Regions from separate parts of the Homo sapiens genome. Here all the other regions are linked to region 2. The links are contacts of gene promoters, found by promoter capture Hi-C in blood cells and fetal thymus (Javierre and others, 2016). All regions are on one chromosome and are shown on one strand. The core of a region is centred on a gene start or on the middle of the fragment in contact, and the rest is flanking DNA. Distances in the headings are between cores, read along the strand shown. Region 1 holds the start of LINC00462 (long intergenic non-protein coding RNA 462). Region 2 holds the start of MED4-AS1 (MED4 antisense RNA 1). Region 3 overlaps RB1 (RB transcriptional corepressor 1).

Evidence for each region. Contacts are between HindIII fragments. The CHiCAGO score rates a contact against its expected background, and 5 or more counts as called.
Region 1: a contact is called between a fragment that was not itself captured here and the fragment with the promoter of MED4-AS1 in region 2, in 3 of 17 cell types (naive B cells, total CD8 T cells and total B cells). The highest score is 6.8, in naive B cells.
Region 3: a contact is called between a fragment that was not itself captured here and the fragment with the promoter of MED4-AS1 in region 2, in 1 of 17 cell types (naive B cells). The highest score is 5.4, in naive B cells.

The regions. Positions count from the first base shown.
Region 1 is chr13:48,578,436-48,581,167 of GRCh38, reverse strand. The region is part of intron 1 of LINC01077 (long intergenic non-protein coding RNA 1077); the gene reads left to right. LINC00462 (long intergenic non-protein coding RNA 462) reads left to right here and starts at 267. Exons shown (of 3, transcript NR_051983.1): 1 at 267-327. RefSeq lists enhancers at 1,545-1,594, 1,615-1,684. The HindIII fragment of the contact is 227 bases long and covers 1,140-1,366 here.
Region 2 is chr13:48,075,527-48,078,459 of GRCh38, reverse strand. It overlaps MED4-AS1 (MED4 antisense RNA 1), which reads right to left and starts at 1,323. Exons shown (of 3, transcript NR_046511.1): 1 at 1,109-1,323; 2 at 907-1,018. It overlaps MED4 (mediator complex subunit 4), which reads left to right. Exons shown (of 7, transcript NM_014166.4): 7 at 1,149-2,736. The coding sequence ends at 1,321. The HindIII fragment of the contact is 10,244 bases long and covers 1-2,933 here.
Region 3 is chr13:48,342,198-48,345,002 of GRCh38, reverse strand. It overlaps RB1 (RB transcriptional corepressor 1), which reads right to left. Exons shown (of 27, transcript NM_000321.3): 3 at 2,289-2,404. Among named protein-coding and RNA genes, the nearest start is that of RB1, 40 kb to the right of the region's middle. The HindIII fragment of the contact is 971 bases long and covers 1,068-2,038 here.

The DNA of each region.
Region 1 (2,732 bases), core at 4-2,503, 500 kb before region 2:
ATCTCATCTTGAATTGCAGCTTCCATAATTCCCACGTGTTGTGGGAGGGTGCCAGTGGGAAATCATTGAGTCATGGGGGCAGTTTCCCACATACTGTTCTCATGGTAATGAATAAGTCTTTTCAAACAACTTTTCAACAATGTTGAACAGAATAAGTCTTTTCAACAATGAATTTCAAAGTCTTTTCATCAAACATTTGATGCTTTTATAGGGGTTTCCCCTTTCGTTTGGCTCTCTTTCTCTCTTGCCTGCTGCCATGTAAGACGTCCCATTGCTCTTCCTTCATCTTCCACCATGATTATGAGGCGTCTCCAGCCACATGGAACTGTGAGTCCATTAAACCTCCTTTTTTTTAAGAATTACCCAGTCTCGGATAAGTCTTTATCAGCAGCGTGATTAATACAGTCGAGTAAACTATTTTTCTGTCAGAAAGCAATTCAAAGTTAGCTGATTGGTCTGACAATGAGGGCTGGCTTTGCCCACCAGGTGATACAGATGGTGTTTTTCATAAACTAAACTGGATACGCTCAATCTGCAACTATTTAAAGCTCAGAAAATGTGTGGGAAAGAACATCCTTTGCAACTATTAAGGTGATAAGGCAAATTTAGATGTCAACTTAAAAACACGCAAGGAGGCACATGATTATTCACAATTATTTTAGGGGGGTATGTGAGAAAACTCTGGAAGACCATTGAATCTTCCAGTTCTCTTCAAATTAACCAGTGTTGGGAAGTTCGTTTAACCACCTAGAGTTGCGATCCTAGTTTTGCTCTGCAGAGGGCAGCATTGCTAAAATATTATTCGACTGTAAAGAAAGGATTTTTTTTTTTTTTTTAACAAGCTCTTTCTAGGCTAACTTACCTCTCCTGTCTTGTGGCATTTTTTTTTTAATTCTTAATTTTTAATTTTTGTGGGCACATAGTAGGTCTATATATTTGTGGGATACATGAGATATTTGGGTACAGGCATGCAATGCATAATAATCACATCATGGAAAGTAGGGTATCCATCCCCTCAAGCATTTATCCTTTGTGTTACAAACCATCCAACTATACTCTTTTAGTTATTTTTAAATGTACAATTAAATTATTATTGACTATAGTTACCCTGTTGTGCTATCAAATACTAGGTCTAAGCTTCAGCATTTATGGCCTCGAGGAGAGAGTTGCTATTTGACCAGAACAGAAATACAAAAGGCCTCTGTGTCAGGCACATTTTTCCAGGGCAGAAACAGCATTTTTTTTTCCTTTACTAAACAATTATCTGTCTTTCTGGAGTCTAACACAGTGCCCAGCACCAACAAGCGAGTGCCCAAAAAGTGTATGATGGATGAAAAGTAGTGCAGTCTCCAACTCCAGGGAAGCTTTGGGTTAAACATGCAAGACATGGCTCACCAGCATTCCTGAAACTCTAAAACCTGCCTTGATCAGATTGCTGTAAGTTCAAATAGTCCTTAGAAAGAGCAGCCACCACCTGGAAGGACTTTGGCACTGGCTGACACAAAATGGCCTGACTCCAGCTACACCTGGTTATGGTGCTCTTTGGTCCCCGGAAATCTTCTGATGCCATTTCACCAAGAAAGTCACATGATTTTCTTATAGTTGGTAAATTCTTTCCAGGCCTTAAATAAATGGCCAAAATTTTACACTTAAAGCGCAGGTTAAGTATGGAGACAAATTACCCATACTTCCCGGTGAATTCAGCTGTAACAGGAATTGAAACTTTCTCTCAAAAATAAGAAAGGGAAGGGAGATCAGGTCGAAAGAAAAAGCATGAAGTAATGAATTTTGACTCTGAGGCTCTCAGTTCCTCTTTTCCAACTTCGTGTCTCCTCCCTGTGGTGTTCAGCTCCTACCCCCAGCTAAGTGTCTGCACGTTATTTCTGGCTGCAGAAATTGTCTTCAGGCAAGTTTTAACTTGTGGGTGTTAACTGCTTCCACCAGGGCATTTGAGTATTTGTTTAATTTGAACTAAAATAAAGGGTTATGCTTCCTGTAAAGGGATCCCAGCATCAGGAACAAGTGTGCCAGGCAGCGTTTTCAGAGAACAGGCTCTCTGGCTGCTGCTAAGCCTGGAGACAGGCAGGGGAGGAATACAGTGGCTTCCCCCAGTATCCTCCCATGGAGCTGCAAAGGTCCCACCGCTAATAAGATAGGATGGGACTGAGTCAAGGTCTGTTGAACTAGAAACCTGTGTTCTTAACCTACTGACTGCTATTCTCACTCTCTGGACTGGCCCAGACTGGCCCCGGACAGGCTCAATACATGATTGTTGAGTTAAAAACAAAAAAAAACAAAATCTCATTGAGAAAGAAAAGAAACTTTATCTGAAGAATGTGAGCCATTTTAAATTATCAGGCCCAAAGAGGCATTGAAATGTGACAGCAATTATGTCTCATTCCCTGCCTTGAGCTAAGTAATCACCTCTTGAAGCCACTTGCTATGTGGGCTCAAGACTGACTGACACCAAGTGGCCATACATTAACCTAACAATGCCATATGCTAGATACCATAGCTCTTACCCTATAGCTCAACAAGGTATAGCCAATCATGAATCAATATTACTTCTTTAAGCCAGTGAGAATTCCTGCCAAACAACTTTGTATCAGCCTATTCCTTGTTCCCTTTTGCCTTTAGAAACCTGCTTGTGGTTGGGTGTCAGGGCTCATGCCTGTAATTCCAGTATTTTGAGAGGCTGAGGCAAGAGGATCACTTGAGCCCGGAAGTTCAAG
Region 2 (2,933 bases), core at 74-2,573:
GCCACCGAAAGTTGCTGTGGTGAACACCACTTAATGTCCTGCACACCAACCAGGCATCACAGCAGTAAAGGAGACAAAACCACCTGATCCAGGAAGTGAAACTTGTTTGCTAGTGGAGTCCCACCTGTGCCCTCTACTGACAAAACTTAATTGTGGCAGCTGGCAAAGGAGAAATGGTTTCAGGGGCCAGAGAGAAGGGTAGATTTGAGGCTAACTGGCATACCTTTCTAGTTAATACCATAACTCTTTCTTTTGACCCTTTAAAAATCTGCCTTCTTTATTTGAGTCTTGAACTATACCTGTTTATGTGCTCTGTCCCTTTGCTTCAGAAATACAGACTTTAAATGTAACTTGGGCCCTTTTTTAAGGTATTTCATATGCATACATTGCTAATCAACCTCTCTTTGATGAGAGTCACTTACAATAGCAGTTCCTCTATCAAGAAATCATTCAAATCTATTATAATACTAAAGTACCTATTACTTGTTTATAATATGTAGAATAATCTACATAACCTAGTATACATAAGTATGTATTATATATGCATATAATAGATACATAGATACAGGAAAAATTTGTAATTACAAATGTCTTACAAAAGAAAAATTATGTCAACTGACTAAATAGTTTCTTACAGAGTAGTATGATTTTTTTAAAAAAGTCCCCAGTTGCTAAAATATCAACTTTTCCTTGATAAATTTGATTTTTATTAATTTGGCTAAATGTGTATTTTTTTCCTAGTCTTAAAAAAATTGGCACAATAGCTTATGCCTGTAATCCCAACACTTTGGGAGGCTGAGGTAGCAGGATAGCTTGAGCCCAGGAGTTGGAGACCAGCCTGGTTAACATAGTGAGACCTCATCTCTACAAAAACTTTAAAAAGTACTCAAGCATGGTGGCACATACCTGTAACCCAGTTACTCAGGAGGCTGAGGCAGGAGGATTGCTTGAGCCTAGGTCAGGGCTTCAGTGATGTATTCGTGCCACTGCACTCAAGCCTGGGTGACAGAATGAGACCCTGTGTCAAAAAAAGAAGAGAAAAAAGTAAAATTAAAAAAAATACTTCAAATTGTTGCATAAAGGGAAAAGTAAGAACTAGATTAATTACAGATAGAGCTGTTCTTATCTATGCTTCTTTTTTTCTCCAGATGTCCTTGCTCCACAGTATCCATGGCAGTCAAATGACATGTCGATGAATATGTTACCACCAAATCATAGTAGTGACTTTTTGTTGGAACCTCCTGGGCATAATAAAGAAAATGAAGATGATGTAGAGATTATGTCAACGGACTCCTCAAGCAGTAGTAGTGAGTCTGATTGAAAAACCTTAAAAGACAATATACAGAATTGAATACTGTAGAATTCTGTTTCTTTAACAGTAGCAGGGAAATGTAAACTACAGGTGACAAAAAATACCCAGGTAAACACTGGCTTTGGTAGAATTGTGCAGTCATTAAAAGTCAAAATTTTTTGACTTTCTTTTTAAAGCCAAAGACCATAGTTTTAGTTTTAAGCCACTAGGTAGATATTTAGGGGAATAGTCAAAATTTACTGTTGAAAAAGCAGTTGCTATGTGCTTTCTTACCCTGTTCTGTTCCAGTTTTGCTGGATTTGTACATAGCCATTCTAGAAATAGAGTTGAGGGAAATTATCCATATACATATCACTAATAGGCTTCTTGGAATTATTTAGAAAAGCATTTTTAAACTGGCAGTGGATGACTGAATAGGCATCATATTTCTTTTTGTGTGTCATTTAAAAGTAACAAAAACTGCCATTTGACAGTAAAGGCTCTTGGCTTCTGTTGGAGGCATGGGAAATTGTCTCAATTTGTACAGTTTGTAATTGTAATTTTTGTAAATAAATTTGTTTGTACATTGTATGCTTTTTTTTTAGTTTAAATATACTGTCAGTGTAGGTAGGAAATTATTTCTGTAAATCCAGTTGCATTTTATAATACTTGAGTGACTAACTGAATTGAAACCTATTACAATTAATAGGGTTCTCAAAGGCCTATTCCTATTAGAAGAAATAATTTTTTTTAATAATTGAAAAAATTTACCACAGCCTTGTCTGATTTTAAGAATAGATTGTGTGAAGATTTAGAATGGAAAGCAACCATTTCTTCCCTTCACCTTCCTCTTCTTACAGTTCCCCAGGAGTCATTTTTAACCACTTTTAATTTCTGTTGGTAACCTCTGTGTTTAGGTAATATGCTTATACAACTATTTCTTGATGTATCAGTTTTAGACAATGTATCTTCTGATTTCAAAGGTAATACAACATTTAATGTGAAACATTTAGTGAATACAGTAAAGGAGAAAATAAAATTGTTAGCATTCTACCCAGAGATAATATCAATTCATATTGTAGTGTAGATTTTTTTAAAGTTCACATACACTTTTTTGTAAAATGAGAATAATGTTTATTTCCTGAGATACTGCTGTATTTTTTAATTGCTAATCTGTATTCTTCAAATGAACTGAGAATTCCATTTTTCCATCATTTTTTCCTTTTGATTATTTTCGATCTCTAGAAAAATTGGAAAATAGGAGATTAATCTTATATTTTCACCATCTAGAATTAAGGACATACAATGTTTGAATGTCTTTCCCTCCAGGGTTATTTTTAGGAATGGACTAACACAATATCTAATTTTAACCTTGCCTTGTCCGTATACTAGGAATATTGATCCATGTGTATACATTCTTGAAAGATTTACTTTAATGGCTAAAATTTTATTGTGGTATGTGCCATAATGTAACTGCCTGTTTTTATCACCAAATCTTTAGGGTAGATTCAAAAGGATTGTGTTTTTCAAATTCTTTAATACTGTATTAGTTTTCAGTTGCTGCCGTAACAAATTACCACAAACTTGGCTCAAAACAACACAAATTTATCTTAGTTTTGTACATCACAAATGTGAAGTGGGT
Region 3 (2,805 bases), core at 304-2,803, 270 kb before region 2:
TTCAATTCAAAAGATTATCAGCTCTACATCAAATCACTACTATATCCTTTGGAAGGAATTACTTTTTGCAAAAATAATTAGCCTTCAACTTACACCTCTATTATCTATATACCTATGCTTATATCTATTCATCATTGAGAATATAAGAAAACGAAGGGTCAAGAAGAGATATGCGTATATTTATTCTGTATCTGTCTATGTGTTTTAAAAAACATGAGTTCACATCCATTCATCCAATTCCAATATAAAACCATATGCTTCATTTTAGTGTTTCCCTTTCTATATTTGTAACTCTTCATTGACAGTGGGAAACCTGGAACCCATTCATCCTCAGTTTACTTACTCATTTAATCAATCCCCCTGTAAGTAACCATTTTCTATCTCCAAAGCCACCCCCTCCCCCGTGTGGACACTTTTCTGTTCTTCTCAGAACTGACTCCCAGTTCTGGACTTACCCCACCCCTTAGCATAGACACTTCCTCACTGTGGAAGGGTTCTGACTCCCCACAGCAGGCTGCCCTCCTCACCTCACTTGTGCACCGGCTGCCTGCACACCCTGCTTAGTCTCTGACACTGCACACAAAGCAGCCCCATCAGGTTGCCCCCACACAAAGGATGCCCTCCTCACCCTACTTTGACTCTAACATCCTGCTCTGGGCCCTGTGGCACCCTCCTGTCAGAGATACACACCAAAATGCATACTTTATTTGCCCCACCAATGATTTTAGAATTGAATTATTTTTGGAAAAGGAAAGTTGATTTAAATAATTTAAGCAGTTTAAATAATAACTTTAAATCACTCTTCGTTACTCTTTTCCATAAAAATTAACGTATTTGAAACATCAATATATACATTTTCCAATAGGATATTAAAGATAGCAATCATCAACTACATCTCACATGCTAATTTCTAATCATGAATTTTGTATAAGGAATTATACCAAAGCAGCTAACTGAAACAAAAGATAGTCACCTGACCCATCCATAGGCTGTCCAGCAACCAATGAGTTATAGCCCTCACTCAAAAAAATGGGCTGGACCAATCAAACACTGGGGAAATAAAAGCTTCAGCTAATCAGCAGGGGAACCAAAAGGTTATTAAAGTTCCTATGATACAGAAAGGAATGGGGGAGCCATGACAAGCTATGTGAAAAAGCAAATAAAGAAAGAGTAGAAATGACAAAGAATAGAAGATCAGAATGTTGATTAGAAGAGAAAAGAGAAAGGAACAAAAGTGCAGATATATCCAAAGAAAAAGAAATCAGCCTCAGAATAGCATTTATTAAAGAACTACTCTCAGTTCCAGTTTTTTTGAGGTATATGGCAATACCTGTCCTGAGATTACCATGAAAACTGAATTGTTACAACAAAGCCTTTTTTCTAGGGGAAACTTAAGGGAAGAAAACAAGGAAGGGAGAGAAGCAGTGAGTGCCTGTGGTGTTGCAGGTATTGACTCTATGAACTATTTATGTCATTTCTATTATTTTGTATATTTACAAATATACAAGGCCTTTGTTTCCACATTTTATTTAGATATAGCAAAAAAAGTATTTCAAAAATGCAACAATTTAATCTATCTCGTTTAAATAAAATATCAATTATGTTTAATTCTAGATGTCTTTGTTCAAGGAGAAACATAATTACCTATTTGGTAAAAATACATACTGTTGCATTTTTGTAAATATGTTGCAAAGAAAATGACTGGAAGTCCTGGATACTTTCTGAAGATAAAGTTCATACATTATTGAAAACACATTAATAAACTCTTCTTATGAGGCTTATAAACTCAACAACAAACACCTATTAAGTAATTAACTGGTTCAAGTATTGTAGCATGTTCAAATCAATATATAATCTGAAAAAAAGCATTTAGTTATAATATCCTCTAGTTAAAACAATCTTAGGCTTTAATAAATCTTACCTAAATACCTTTAAGATAAACTCAAACTACTTATATAAAGGTTTTAATATAAAACAAGCCTATTTACAAATCCTTGCTTTTCTGTTCACTTTATTAACAGCCACAATTAAGAAAGCTTACACATGAATAGTGAGAGACACAATGAAAATTTTTCCAGGACACAAACTGCTACCTCTTAAAGAAATACAGCATAAATACACTTTCATAACGGCTCCATGAGAGAATGGCAGTTCACTATTTGGTCCAAGTTCTTTTTGTTTTACTTTATTTTAGCATTTCTCACTAATTCACAAAAGTCTATTGAGAGGAAAATCCAGAATTCGTTTCCTTTTATGGCAGAGGCTTATATTTATACAAGAAACTTTACCTGATTTCTATGTTTTTCTGTAGCTCAGTAAAAGTGAACGACATCTCATCTAGGTCAACTGCTGCAATAAAGATACAGATTCCCCACAGTTCCTTTTTCTTTTGAATATAACCTCCCTGGGAACAAAAAATAAAGATCAAATATTTCATTAAATAATTCACACACTGGATACTATGTTAAAACTGTATTATAACTGATTTTTTCTTATTCAGCATACAAAATAAATGTTTGTAATACTGTATATTTGTAACACATCCTTCTGATGGCATATATTTGAAAGGATTTCATTTCACACTAATAACAAACATTCAAATTTTATATTATAAGGCAAAAAAGTATTAGAAAGATAAAAAATTAAATAAGTTATTGTGGAAACTTTAGGGGTCAGTCAATTCCTCAAAATAGTTTCATTTTTCAATAATCCAATGTCACTGAAGCTAAGTTAAGAGATCTAGAGTCCATAACATATAATTTGTTTGAAAAAAACAAGCCCACGTTCTTATTCGCTTATTCTTTC